Regions from separate parts of the Homo sapiens genome. Here all the other regions are linked to region 2. The links are contacts of gene promoters, found by promoter capture Hi-C in human tissues and cell types (Jung and others, 2019). All regions are on one chromosome and are shown on one strand. The core of a region is centred on a gene start or on the middle of the fragment in contact, and the rest is flanking DNA. Distances in the headings are between cores, read along the strand shown. Region 1 has its middle 23 kb from the start of CAPNS2. Region 2 holds the start of CES1 (carboxylesterase 1). Region 3 holds the start of SLC6A2 (solute carrier family 6 member 2).

Region 1 (4,345 bases), core at 1,771-4,270, 240 kb before region 2:
TGGCCTATTTTCAGTCAGCCAAAAATGTCAAAACCTTCTGTGAGTAGTCCAGGTACTGGAAATCAGACAATTTGAACTTCAGGATACTACAATAATTTTTTCCTTTGTGGGTAGTGGTGGAGCATGAATTCTCTACTTCTTATTGGTCCTTCTGCTATGATGGCCCTTTCAGTCACACCTCTGTTCTCAAAATAAGAATATAATCAATAAAGTAGAGTTTGAGGGAACGGAGGACTAAGTCAAAAGTGGGATACCTAGGACTTCATTCTAGTTACTGTGGAATTATCTCCTTTGCTTTTCTTCCTGTTTGTGCTTTTTCTATCCTGTTAATTCTCCTGCCTTATGGAAAGCACAGTGATTGTTTCACAGCATAAACCAGACATCACTTTTCCAGTTTAATTTTTTTTCAAAGGCCCCCATTGCATTTTGGAAAAAATTCAAAATATTCAACATGGCCTACAAAGCCCTGTCACCCTTAAATAGTGTGTTGAGTCTGGCTCCTACCCACAGTCTAAATCTCAACTGTCTCCAATCTTCTCCCTCACTAAACTCCTACCAGCAAATCTTTTCTTCAAACTGGCTAATGCCCTATTCTAGCCTCAGAGTTTTGTGCTGCTGTTCTCTTAGGTACAGTGTTTTTCCCCAAGATTTTTATCTGGCTTTCTCTTCTTCATTTAGACTTTTAAACAAACAGCTTCATGAATTACTTGAGATGTAATTAATATACATACAATTTACCCATTTAAGGTATACATTTTAATGTTTTTATTATATTCACAGAGTTGTACAACCATCACACTCTAATTTCAGAACGTTTTCATCTTGATTCAGATTTTAAATCAAATGTCACATCATCCAGTAGGAACTCCAGTCACTAATTAGAAATACCCATTATGTTTTTACACACATTCTCAATCCCACTACCTGTTTGTTATTGCACTTGAACTTACATGAAACTATTTACTTGTTTATACATTTATTGTCTGTTATTCCTAGCACATAGAAGGTATGTCTGGCACATAGCAAACACTCGATCTTTGATGAATGAATGAATAATGATAACATTAACTTTTTTGCTTATTCTGCCTTGTATTGTGTAAGATTAGAGACAATCCTTACAACAAACTTGAAAACCCAGACTTAACGATCTCTAAAACTCACATGTAAGTTAAGGCTCAGAGAAGTTTCATCACTTGCTCAGAGTTACGTAACTGGTGAATACCGAGGCTAGATTTCAAACCCAAGGCTGCCCGGCTCTAAATGAGGGGATATTTGATTAGGCCAAAGTAACCTGAACCCTTAAAATAACCAGGCTTTAACTTCCAGAAACATGGGAACTAGATAACCTGAGAACCTGCTGGCCACGAAACCCCTAGAATACTGAACACAATATCACAAACATATTTTGAAATGCATAGATGAGCATGTAAAATACTGAGGGAACTCCTCAATGGCCAAAAGTGGAAAGCAGATGAAAACCAGAACTGTGTAAAAGCCTGAAAGTTACAGTCGTCCTGCAGACATTTGTCAATCTCAGTAACAAAGGGACTTAGTATTTTTTGGCTATGGAAGACAAAAACAAGCTTTTTGTATAAGGTGGGAATGTTGAACTGAGACCTCATGGGAGAAAAAGCAGATGAAGGGTTAGAGGCTCAGTAAAAGAATGAACTGGAAAAATCCATCTTCTGACAAAGAAAGACAATGAGGAAACTTTTCTGTCTTGGGCTGGGTGCTTGGTTGGAGCAGGGGGAAAGAATCTCTGATTTTTCAAAAACTTTCAATTAAAAAAATGTTTCAAAACTCATTTTATGGCCCAGTCTATGTATGTCTTGTTGAATGTCCCATGTGCATTTGAAAGGAATATGTGTTCTGCATTTGTTGAATGTAATGTTCAGTAAAGGTAAATTAGGTTCAGTTAGTTAGTAATGCTATATAAGCCCTCTATAGCCTCACTGATTTTTTTGTCTGCTTATTCTATAATTATTGAAAAGGGGATATTGAAATTGTCAGCTGCAACCATGGTTTTATTGGCAGTCAGTTTGTTTGACGTCCTGCCCTTAGATTCATAATCACTTATGATTTTCATATAGTCTTGATGAATTGACCCTTTTATCATTATGAAATATGCCTCTTTAATTCTAGTAATACTCCTAATGTTACCATAGCTACTCCAACCATGCCAACTCTCTTATCATTAGTGTTTGCATGGTTTATAGTTTTTCATCATTTTACTATTAACTTGTGTCCTTATTTTTTAAATGCATCTCTTAAATGAATGTTTTATGACCCATTCAGGCCTTGATTTTTTTATTCTATATGACAATTTCTGTCTTTTAATTGGAGCAGTTACTCCACCTACATTTAATGTAATTATTGATACAATTAGGTTTACTACCATACAGAGTCTACTATCTTGCTTTTTGTTTTCTGTTTGTTCCATCTGTTCTAGGATACTCTCTCTTCCTTTTCTGACTTCTTTTGAATTAATCATTTTTTTTGACATTTTATCATTTTATATTTTCTTTTGGCTTATTAGATATAATTACCTATTTTTAATGGTCGCTCCAAGGCTTATAATATCTTTCACATCTAAACTGTATCTTTAATGTAATATAGTTTACTTTCAAATAACAGTATACTTTTTCACCTATAGCATGTGAACCTTACAACAATATACTTTCATTTTACTCTACCTTATTATTTCTGCTATTGTCATATGTTATTTATGTGTTTTAAACCCCACAAGACACTTTAATTATTTTTGTTATAAACAATTACCATTGAGAGAAAGTAAGACTTTGATAAAGAAAGGTATTTTATATTTATCTACATATTTACTGTTTCTAGCACTCTTCTTTATATAGTTCCACTTTTCATCATTTTCCTTAAGCATGAGGACCTTCCTTGAACAATTCTTGTAGCACAAGTCTTCTGTCGATAAGTTCTCTCAACTTTATTTTGTCTAAATGTGTCTTTATTTTGGCTTCATTTTTGTAGAATATTTTTGATGGATATAGAATTCTAGGTTGATTTTCTTTTCCTTCTAGTACATTACAGATTTCATTGTCTTTTTCTTTTTATTGTCTCTGATGAGAAATTAACAATAATTATCTTCCTAGTTCTGTTGTATGTAATTTATCATCAGGCTACTTTTAACATTTTTTTTTCTTTATTACTAGTTTTGAAAAATTGTATTATGATTTGCCTTGGTGCAATATTCTTTATGCTTCTGGGGTTTATTGAACTGCTTGGATCTGTAAGTTTAGAGTTTTCATGAAATTTGGAAAATTTTCAGCTATTATTTTTTTCAAATAATTTTTCTGCCCCTAATCTTTCTCATTTCTCTCCTCTAATTACATATATGTTAGCCCATTTGGACTATTCCATAGGTCACTGAGTCTGTTAATTTTTTTCATCTTCCTTTTTCTGTATGCTTTGGTTTTCATATTTTTTGTTGCTCTTCAAGTTCACCAGTTGTGTCTCCTGCAGTATAAATGTTTCATTTCAGATACCACATTTTATGCTTCTTGAACTTTTATTTAGTTTTTTTCTTAGTTTCTATTTGGCTAATGAGAATTCCTATTCTCTCATTATGTTCACAGATTTCCTAAATTTCTAGAATATATTTATATGTAGTTTTAAAGTTCTTATTTCCTATTCTGTGTTTGTTATTCCTGATTTTATTTCTATCGCTGATTTACCTCCTAGTAATAGGTCATATTTCCTTTTTCTTCACATGTCTGATAATTTTGTGTTATATCCTGGACATTATGGATGCCACTTTATTAAGTGTCTAGATTTGGCTGTCATCCTTAAATCGGGTGTCTAGTTTTGTTCTGCCAGGTAGTTAATTTACTTGCAGATCAGCCTGGTTCTTTCTAAGCTTATTTTAAGGTTTTACAAGAAAGAGTCCATAGTATTCTTTACTCTAGGATTACATTAGCCTTATGCCTAAAGTGTAGCCTTTCTGAGGGTCTCTTTTGAATCTCCTGTATATTCAACAAGGTCTCTACGCTCTGGCTGTTCAAAAATCAAATGTGTTTTAACCTTGTGTGAGCTTCAGTAGTTATTCAATATACAGCTTCCTCTGTAGATATTCTTTCCTCAGTACTTTTTGTTTCTCCAATAGATGTTCTTTATCTGTCCTCATGGAGTCTTTCGCTGAGCATGTGCAGCTTAGTAGCTATATTAGTCTACTTAGGCTGCCATAACAAAATAACACAGACTGGGAGGCTTAAAAAAACCAGAAATTTATTTTCTTACACTTCTAGAGGCTAGAAGTCCAAGATCAAGATGCTATTAAGGATGGTTTCTGATAAGATTTCTGGTTTATAGACAGCTGCCT
Region 2 (4,426 bases), core at 490-2,989:
GGGATTCCCTTCAACAGGATGAGGTGGATGGCAGCCAGATTGCCAAGGGTGAAAAAGTGGGTGAATGGGGGGAGGCAGAAACAAGTGTGAGAACAAGACCAGTTGCTGCTGATGTTATATGAAGCACGAACATGGTGGGCACCTACTATGTGCCAGGCATGCATTCCAGTTTTTTAAATTAATCTTCAAATAAGCCTTGCTGGGTAGGCATCAACATGCCCATTTTACAGAGGAGGAAACTGAGGAAGTGGAGGCAGCCTGTATGGTCTTCCTAAGGAAGGAAATGGATGGCATTGCCAGGAGTAACCAGAGGTAAAGGAACATTCAGTTCCAAATAGGCTTCCTCTCTTCTCTGCCCTTCCCCACAGTTCCAGAGCTCTCGCAGTGTCAGGCTGCCAGAAGGAAGACAGGATGCAGACGGGGCTGGGCTGTCAGGATTCAGGACCCAGAGACAGACCTAGGCGTGATTTTCGGGTTGACCCTGGGCAAGTACATTTCCCTGTGTGAGTCTCAGTTTCTCTGTCTATAAAATGGCATGGGGGTATTTCGAGGCCCCTCGCTGCACCCCTCTATGTACCATGTGTTTTGCTTTCTGTATTCTGATGCTCTGGCATCTGAGGCCTTGTTGACCTTGGAGAAACTCCCTCCCAGGGTCCAGCCACCCCAGAGCCCACACCCCAACTGCCTCTTTGATCGGGTTGCCATGCCCTGGCCACTACCCACCTGCCCTAATCATGCCAGGGCTAGGTACAAAACAATTAGGAACAGCCCCTGTGCCCCAGAGCCCCTGAAGTATCCCAACTTGCCAGTCCTCAGCCTGCCTGCCCTGCCTTTCCTCTTCTATCCTTGGAAGCCACAGTAAAAGCCCCTTGGCCTCAGATCCGCCCTGTCCCCTCCCCAGGCTCTGCTGCTTCCCCTTGTGCCCCGCGCACTGGTGTCCCCCTCCTGTTGAGAACATGAGTAAGAAACTGTCTTTTTAATGGCAAGAGGTCCTGATATAGTGGCCTGACCACAGCTCAAATTTTCTATTCATACACTACGTTTTTAAACAGCGCCTTTATTTATCCATCCCTTTTTCGTGCTTTCTACATACCAGGCGCTGCCAAGAGTGCTTTAGAAACAGCCACCCATTTCCTCCTCACCAAAGCCCAGTGAGGTAGGCAGCACTGCCACCTCTGTTTCAGAGAGGGGGTAACCCAAGCACGGAATAGCGCAGTCCCTTGCCTAAGGACACACAGCGAGGAAGCGCCCAGCGGGGACTCGAACCCACGCACTCTGGCTCCAGAGTCGATGCTCTTAATATTATGTTGAGCCGCTCTCCGTGATCCAGCCGTAAGGGGACTAATTAAGGGACAGCAAACTGAGCTGCCTAAATTTCTCGTGTGTGCGGCCTGAGGTGGGCCGGCTGTCGGCCTGCATTTGGGCGAGCAGTACAGGGCGATCTCAGGATGTTCACCCTCCCTGCGTCTCCGCGCGGGCCAGGCTGGCCGGGCTCAGCTGCTCCAAGTCCAAGTCCTAATATGGAAGTCGTGCCCCGCCGCAGAGCCGGACCTGTTGTGTCTTTGCCTTTCTACGCATCTGCGCCCACCTCGGCCCAGAACAAGGATTTCAAAAAGTGCCCCGCATTTTGATTTCAGAAGGACTCACCCCAAGCCGCGGAAGCAGAGAGAGTGGCCAGGATAAAGGCACGGAGCCACATCGTGGAAGGGCGACAGTTCTCGGGGCCTGCGAGGTCTCTGTGCAGTTCAGAGGGACTGTGCTGTCCAGCCCTGGAGCCCAGCCCCGCCCAGAGTTACCGCCCTGCGCTGCCAATTGCCTAATCCTCTAATTGGGAGAGATCAGAAAAGCCCTCCCTTTCCTCAGATCTCCCTGGGCTTCTAGTGGGGCCTCAGGCCACGCCCACCCACAGTTTACCCTCTTTCATCAAACCAGTCTGGACTCTACTGTCAGATTACAGAGAGCTGTAAACTTGCCCAACTACTTGTTACATAAGGGTTCACCCTTGCAGGACTCTAACCTCAGTGCACTGTGACGGCCCCCAAGGGCCCACACCAGCAGGCAGATGCTTTTAGGCAAAGGGAAGCTTTGATCTGAGGTCCTCAGAAACAACTGGAAAATGTTAGAGCCACTCACACCTCACAGCTCAGCTGGGTAAGTTAGGACATATCTCAGCTCCCAGGGCTTGTGTTTTCATAGCTTTCCAGGCTCTCAAGCTTGGAAGCGATCTTAAATTTCATCGAGTCCCCTTTCTGAGGCCTGAATTAGCTTCACAATATCCTGCCAACTGGTCCAGCCTCCTGTCACACACCATCGGTGTCAGAGAACTCACTACTTTCCAAAGCAGGGATTTTTGGACAGAATGTAAAAATGAACTCCGTCCCCCCATAGTCCCTGGCTGTTATCATCCATCCATCCAAGTACCCATCCATTTTGTGAACATTTACCAAAATGCTTGGCACCTGGCCATGTATAATGGATACAAAGACCAATTCAAGACATGGTTCAGCTTCTCAAGGGGCTCACCATTGTAGACAAGACAGATGGGGTGGAGGAGCAGTAGGGGTGATGTCAAGGCAATGTGAAATCACCAAATTAAGGGGATACAGAGTGCTCTGGGCACACCTGGAAAACTGTCATTTACAAGCTGCTGGGGACACAAGGAAGTCACTCAAAGCCTCTTTCATGGGATTATTAAATGTCCAACAATAGGGAATTCACTAAACACACTGTGGTACCGCTGGCTAAGGAAATACGATGTATTCACTCAAAATAGTGATGTGCACAGCTATTTATTAACAATGAAGACAGGATGCGTTGTGAAAGGAGAAAATAATAGGTTATAAACTGTTGTGCGGTGTAGGCAGTTCCTCAAAAAGTTCAACACAGAGTTTCCATATGACCCAGCAATTCCCCTCCTAGGTGTCTACCGAAGAGAACTGAAAGCATGTCCACACAAAAGCTTGTACACAAAGAGCAGTGTCATTCATCCTAGTCAAAAAGTGGGCACAACCCGCATGTCCATGACCTGATGAATGTGTAAATGAAGTGTGGTGTATGCGTGCAGAGGCATATCATCCAGCCATAAGAAGAACATGCTACAACGTGGATGAAGCTGGAAAACATCATGGTAAAGGAAAGAAGCCAGCCACAAAAGGCCACATGTCGTATGATGCTTTTTATATGTAATTTCCAAAATAGTCAAATCCATGGAGACAGAAAGTGTTTGACAGGGTCTGGGGAAGGGGAAAGAGACGGGGATGAGGAGTGACTGCTAATGGGCATGAGTTTTATCTTGGGGGTGGTAAAAATGTCCTGGGATTAAATAGTGATGATGTTAGTGCAACTTTGGGAATATACTAAACACCACTAGATTGTACACTTTAAAAAGGTAAACTTTATGACATGTGACTTATATTTCAATAAAATAATGAAATATTTTTGAAAATCTAGATAGGTATAATATGGTCCCGTTTTGGTAGTAACATATGTCTTTATTTGCATAGGAAAATACTGGAAGTCTATATATCTAATTAGAATTACAACAGCCATTTCCTGGCTGTAATCTTGTCAGTGTTTCACTTATTTGCATTTTCCACTTTTATTCCTTCATACATTCATTGACAAATATTTACTGAGAGCTTACTGTGTGGCAAACACTATGCCGAGAGTTTTGTATGCAGGATCTCAGTTCTCAAAATAACCCCGTGAGATTAATGCTGTCTCACGATCTTAAATTGATTTCTGTTGTTTAAGCCACCCAGTCTGTGATATTTTCTTCTGGCAGCCTAAGTAGACTAATACATAGGCTCAACTCAATTCCGTTATTTATTCCCAAAAGAAACTAAGGCCCAGAGATGAGGAGGGATTGCCTAAGGTCACACAGCAACTCAATGGCAAAGTCAGAACCAGAACTTGAGGCTTCTGCCTTCCAGCACAGGGTGGCTGGCAGCCATTTCTCTTGCTTTTATACATCAGGAAGATATTCTAATCAGTAGCCTTATCTAAGGCAAATTGCCTTGTCAGCTCATTGACCCAGGCTTAGCATGGTAGGGCTGAAGGGATAGAAATAGCCAGGGGAGGCTGGGCACTGTGGCAACCCTTCCCGCTCGGTAATCCTAGCACTTTGGCAAGCCAAGGTGGGAAGATTGCTTGAGAGAGGAGTTCAAGACCAACCTGGGAAACATAGTAAGACCCTATCTCTACAAGAATAAGGAGAAAGGAAGAAGAAGAAAAAGAGGAAGGAGAAGAAGGAGAAGGAGGGAAGAAAGAAGAAGAGGAAGAAGAAGAAGAAAGACAGAGAGAGACAAAGAAAGAAAGAGAGAGGAAGGAAGGAAGGAAGGAAGGAAGGAAGGAAGGAAGGAAGGGACAAAGATGGGAGCCATGTACCAGGTACCTGGGGAGCTATGTTCTATTTTCCCAATGTCAC
Region 3 (4,043 bases), core at 550-3,049, 180 kb before region 2:
GATCGTCCAATAGATCAAAGGAGATAAACACCTTTCATGTGTGGAAACCTACAGTTCTGAGCTCTTGTCCTCAAACCTCTGCTCAATCTTTTCCCTCACCTGCCTTCTGTCATCTTCCCCAGAAGCCAGGGGAACCCATACCCCTCTAGGTTTCCCTTCCTCTCCCCTCTGCATCCTGCCCAGAGGACATTTGTCACGATTGTCCCTCTGGTACAGATGCTCTAAACACCGCCACACACCACCATTCTTTCATTCATTAACTCATTCACTTCATAGGCTGGTTGATGCTCTAGTACGTTCCAGGTGCCAGAACACGTGCTGTAAAAGACAGACAAGGTCCCTGTGCTCATGGAGCTCACATACCACCCAAGGGGGGACATAAAGTTAAACAACTAGGACAAATTCGGATAGCGATGTAACAAATGAATAAATAGGGTGATAGGATAGAGTGAGCGTGTATTTTCGATTTGAGTCGTCGGGAAGGGACCTCTGGACTGAGACCTGAACAACTCAGGCAGAGAAAACAGCAAGTGTAAAGGTCTTGGGGTGGGTTTGAGCTTAGGATGTTTACAGAATGGAAAGGTCAGTGTGGCTGGGCTGATCCAAGCCCCACCCAACCCACTTAGCACGGCCACCTCTCTGAAGCCTCCTTGGATCAACAGGATGCTTCCCTTGCTGATTCAGCTCCACCCTACTTCCACACATCTGTGGTCACAACACATCCTGACCACACTGGGTTGTGATAGACTCTATACACTGGTCTGGGAGCTCCTTGAAGGCAGGGGCTATCTCCTCTCTAGCCAGCACTGTTCACGCACACAGCAGATGATCAGCATCTGCTAAAGGGATTAATACATTAATCAATAGATGAGTGAATGAATGAGAAAACGACTCTCAGGTCCAAATGGCTCACTCCTTTACTTGTCTAATTGTTACCTTCTCAAATTCCCTGACCCCGTATGCAAACTGCAGCCCCACTGTCCCCCCATTCCCTCACCCATCATATAACGTGTGTATTTATTATGTTTCCCGTTTCCTCTGTCTCCGCCAGCAGAATGTAAACTCCATGAGGTCAGGAATCTCCGAGTTATGTTGCGCCAGTGTAATCCAAGAGCCCGGAACAGTGCCTGGCACACAGCGGGCATATGGAAGAACAAATGTGTGAAGGTGTGAATGAATGAATAATTGAAAGAATAAATAGTAGTTCTCAGCCTCACAGAACACGGGTCACAACCTCAAATGACCTGCTACCCTGCCCATAAATAACAGAGATGCAGGAGTAAGTGCTGGGCTGTGACCTGTCAACATGCTAAGCCGCTCAAACAAAACTGCCCAACAGCCCGCTGGCCGCCTATTTGCAGCACTGGGCCCTGAGCCGCACATTCCCATTTCGTTGATAAAGAAACTGACCAGATAGTTTAAGTGGCCTGCTGCGGAAGACAGAGCTGGTGCTGCACCGGTCGCTGCTTCCCCAGTCCTTTTTTGGCCTCCTTTCTGACGCGACGCAGACCCCAGTTCTGGAGAGTCTGTCACTCGCTCCCCGTGGTGGGAGATCAGAGGCCTGGTGTCCTTGGGAGCGGCGAGCGGTGCTCGGCGCAGGATAGAAAGGGAGTGCGCGCCCGAGTCCCCCAGATCCCTGGGAACCCGCGCCACCCTCCCGCCCCTGCCCATCCCCGGCCGCGCTGTCAGTCTCCATTAGCGCTAACAGGCTCCAGACGGAGCGGGCCGGGCGCTGGGTTAATGCAATCGGCGCGTTACCTGGGGCGCAGGCTACATTACCAGCCCGGCCCCCGCCAGGCACGGCCAGAACCAGTCAGCCCGCGCCCTGCCGGCCGCCCCGCGCCTCCAGCTCTTCCCCGGCCCCGCCCGAACGCCACACGGCGGAGCCCAGCCCCAGCCCGCGCCCTAGAGCCTGCCAAGGCGCCGCCGGTCGGGGGCCGGCAGGGCGCAAGGCACCAGGGATCCCCTCGCCGCCGGACACGTGAGTGCGCCCTGAGCGCGGGACAGGGCTAGGTCTGCCTGGGAGGCCCGGGCCGAGACGCGCCAGCAGAGGGCTAGCGAGTTTGTAGTGCAGTGACGTTAAGTGTCCGAGAAGGCTCCTGTGGCTGTTGAAGTGTCGCGGACCTGAGCTGGGGAGGGGGTCGGCACGCTGCCCTCAGCCTCGGTGAGTTCAATCCCAGCCATTTGGGGCAGGCGAGAGTGGGTGAACGAGGAAAAGTGCTGCAGGGTCTTCAGCCGCCCCCAGAGGGCTGTCAGAAGTCTCCAACTCTTGAGTTCCGGCGTGCCCCAACCTCTGTTTCCAAATTTTTCCAGCGGACGCGCGCCCTTTTCTGGGAACCCTGCGTCCGCTCAGCGCGCGCTCATCCCAGTGTCTAAGGCGCTCCCGGGTGGTCTTGGGAGTTGCAAGTAGGGAGGAACGGCCGGGTAACCACCTCTTTTCCCTTTATCCAAGCAGAGCCTCGGCGTGCCCCCAGGACCGGTAAAGTTCCTCTCGCCAGCCGCATCCATGCTTCTGGCGCGGATGAACCCGCAGGTGCAGCCCGAGAACAACGGGGCGGACACGGGTCCAGAGCAGCCCCTTCGGGCGCGCAAAACTGCGGAGCTGCTGGTGGTGAAGGAGCGCAACGGCGTCCAGTGCCTGCTGGCGCCCCGCGACGGCGACGCGCAGCCCCGGGAGACCTGGGGCAAGAAGATCGACTTCCTGCTGTCCGTAGTCGGCTTCGCAGTGGACCTGGCCAACGTGTGGCGCTTCCCCTACCTCTGCTACAAGAACGGCGGCGGTGAGCGTGGGGTCGGGCTGGGAATTTGAATCTGGGAGGTCCACTGTCTGCAGCGGTGGCTGGGACAGGAGCTGGAATACACACGGAAGGGAGGCGAGGAGACAGGGGCAAATCTGGGGCGCAGAAAGAACTGGACAGGGCTAACGGGAAAAAAAAAGATTGGAGTCCTCTGGAAGGTCATTTTCCCAGGCTCTTTGCAGAGTACCTCGAGCTCATTCCAGCGGAAGTGTCAGGATTGGGCACCCTGGAAGCAAAACAGCAGAAGAGTGAAATCGAGTCATGACCCTAAAGTCATGGTAGGGGTATGGATGGAAAGGACAGAATCTGGGGTGCCAGGTTGGGTGGGGGAGCCTGACCTTTTGATGGTCTGCTGGAAGGGAGGTGGAGATTCCAAGAGCTCTTGAAGGGGCACCAGAAGTGGGTGGGATTTGACAACCAGGCCCACAGTGACCCTAAATCTAGCACTCTGAGCCTGGGGGCAGGAACCTTTGGGCCAGAAGCAGTGGGAATACTTCGGTTTTCTGAAGGCACCTGGGGAGGCCCTGTGGTCTTGGGGATAGAAACACACAAGAAGAAGCCAGTATCAGAAATAATGCCATTCTCAGGGAGCACAGCCCAGGTGGAATCAGGCCAGTAGGTGCCAAGAACTGGCCTGGTCCTCAAGGCAGGAGGCCCAGATGATTGGGGTGAAACCTCTACCTCCTCAAGTTCTAGCCGCATTGCAGGGAGGAGTGGGAGAGGGGCCTGAAGAAGACTCCAGTGGAACAGCCACACTCTCTCCCCCTTCTGCTGGATGGTCCAACTGGCCACCTGCCTGAAAATGAGAGCCTAGAGATCACCTACAGCCAATCCAGGAAGAATAACATAGAACCCCGGGCCAGGGAAGCGGTCTGGAAGTCAGGGTGCTGGCCCCCACCCCCTAGCTCCTTCCTGAGGGGCTTTGCTCCTGCCACTTTTGCTGGGATGAGCTCAGAGGTACCCTGCAAAGAGTGTGGGAAAATAGACCTTTTGAGGAAGAAATTGGAGAAGGGGGACCCAGCTCTGAAAGCCTCTCTCTCTCCACTGGGCTGCATTGCTTGGCGGTAGCTGTGACTCTGGACTTAAGGGAGGTCAGAGGGAGGAAGGGCAAGAATTTGGAGCTGGGTAGAGGGAAAGCTCATGACCTGTTCACAGGCTCTAGGACTTACAACTCTGCTTCTATGTGTACTCTGGACACTTGCTTTGGGACGGGCAATACTTGGTGTTTGCAAAAAAGGAGTGGGG

The links. The method cuts DNA at HindIII sites, captures the fragments that hold promoters and counts their contacts. A contact is called where the count stands out against the background at its distance.
Region 1: a fragment that was not itself captured here is called in contact with the fragment with the promoter of CES1 in region 2 in 2 of the 25 tissues and cell types used here (H1 embryonic stem cells and spleen).
Region 3: the fragment with the promoter of SLC6A2 here is called in contact with the fragment with the promoter of CES1 in region 2 in 1 of the 25 tissues and cell types used here (mesendoderm cells).

Annotation. Positions count from the first base shown.
Region 1 is chr16:55,587,820-55,592,164 of GRCh38, forward strand. No RefSeq gene overlaps it. Among named protein-coding and RNA genes, the nearest start is that of CAPNS2, 23 kb to the left of the region's middle. The HindIII fragment of the contact is 4,617 bases long and covers 713-4,345 here.
Region 2 is chr16:55,831,357-55,835,782 of GRCh38, forward strand. It overlaps CES1 (carboxylesterase 1), which reads right to left and starts at 1,740. Exons shown (of 14, transcript NM_001025195.2): 1 at 1,648-1,740. The coding sequence starts at 1,699. The HindIII fragment of the contact is 6,998 bases long and covers 1-2,586 here.
Region 3 is chr16:55,654,189-55,658,231 of GRCh38, forward strand. It overlaps SLC6A2 (solute carrier family 6 member 2), which reads left to right and starts at 1,800. Exons shown (of 15, transcript NM_001172501.3): 1 at 1,800-1,981; 2 at 2,456-2,780. The coding sequence starts at 2,507. LOC124903693 (a long non-coding RNA gene) reads right to left here and starts at 1,925. Exons shown (of 2, transcript XR_007065075.1): 1 at 1,411-1,925. RefSeq lists an enhancer at 2,052-2,587. The HindIII fragment of the contact is 17,922 bases long and covers 1-4,043 here.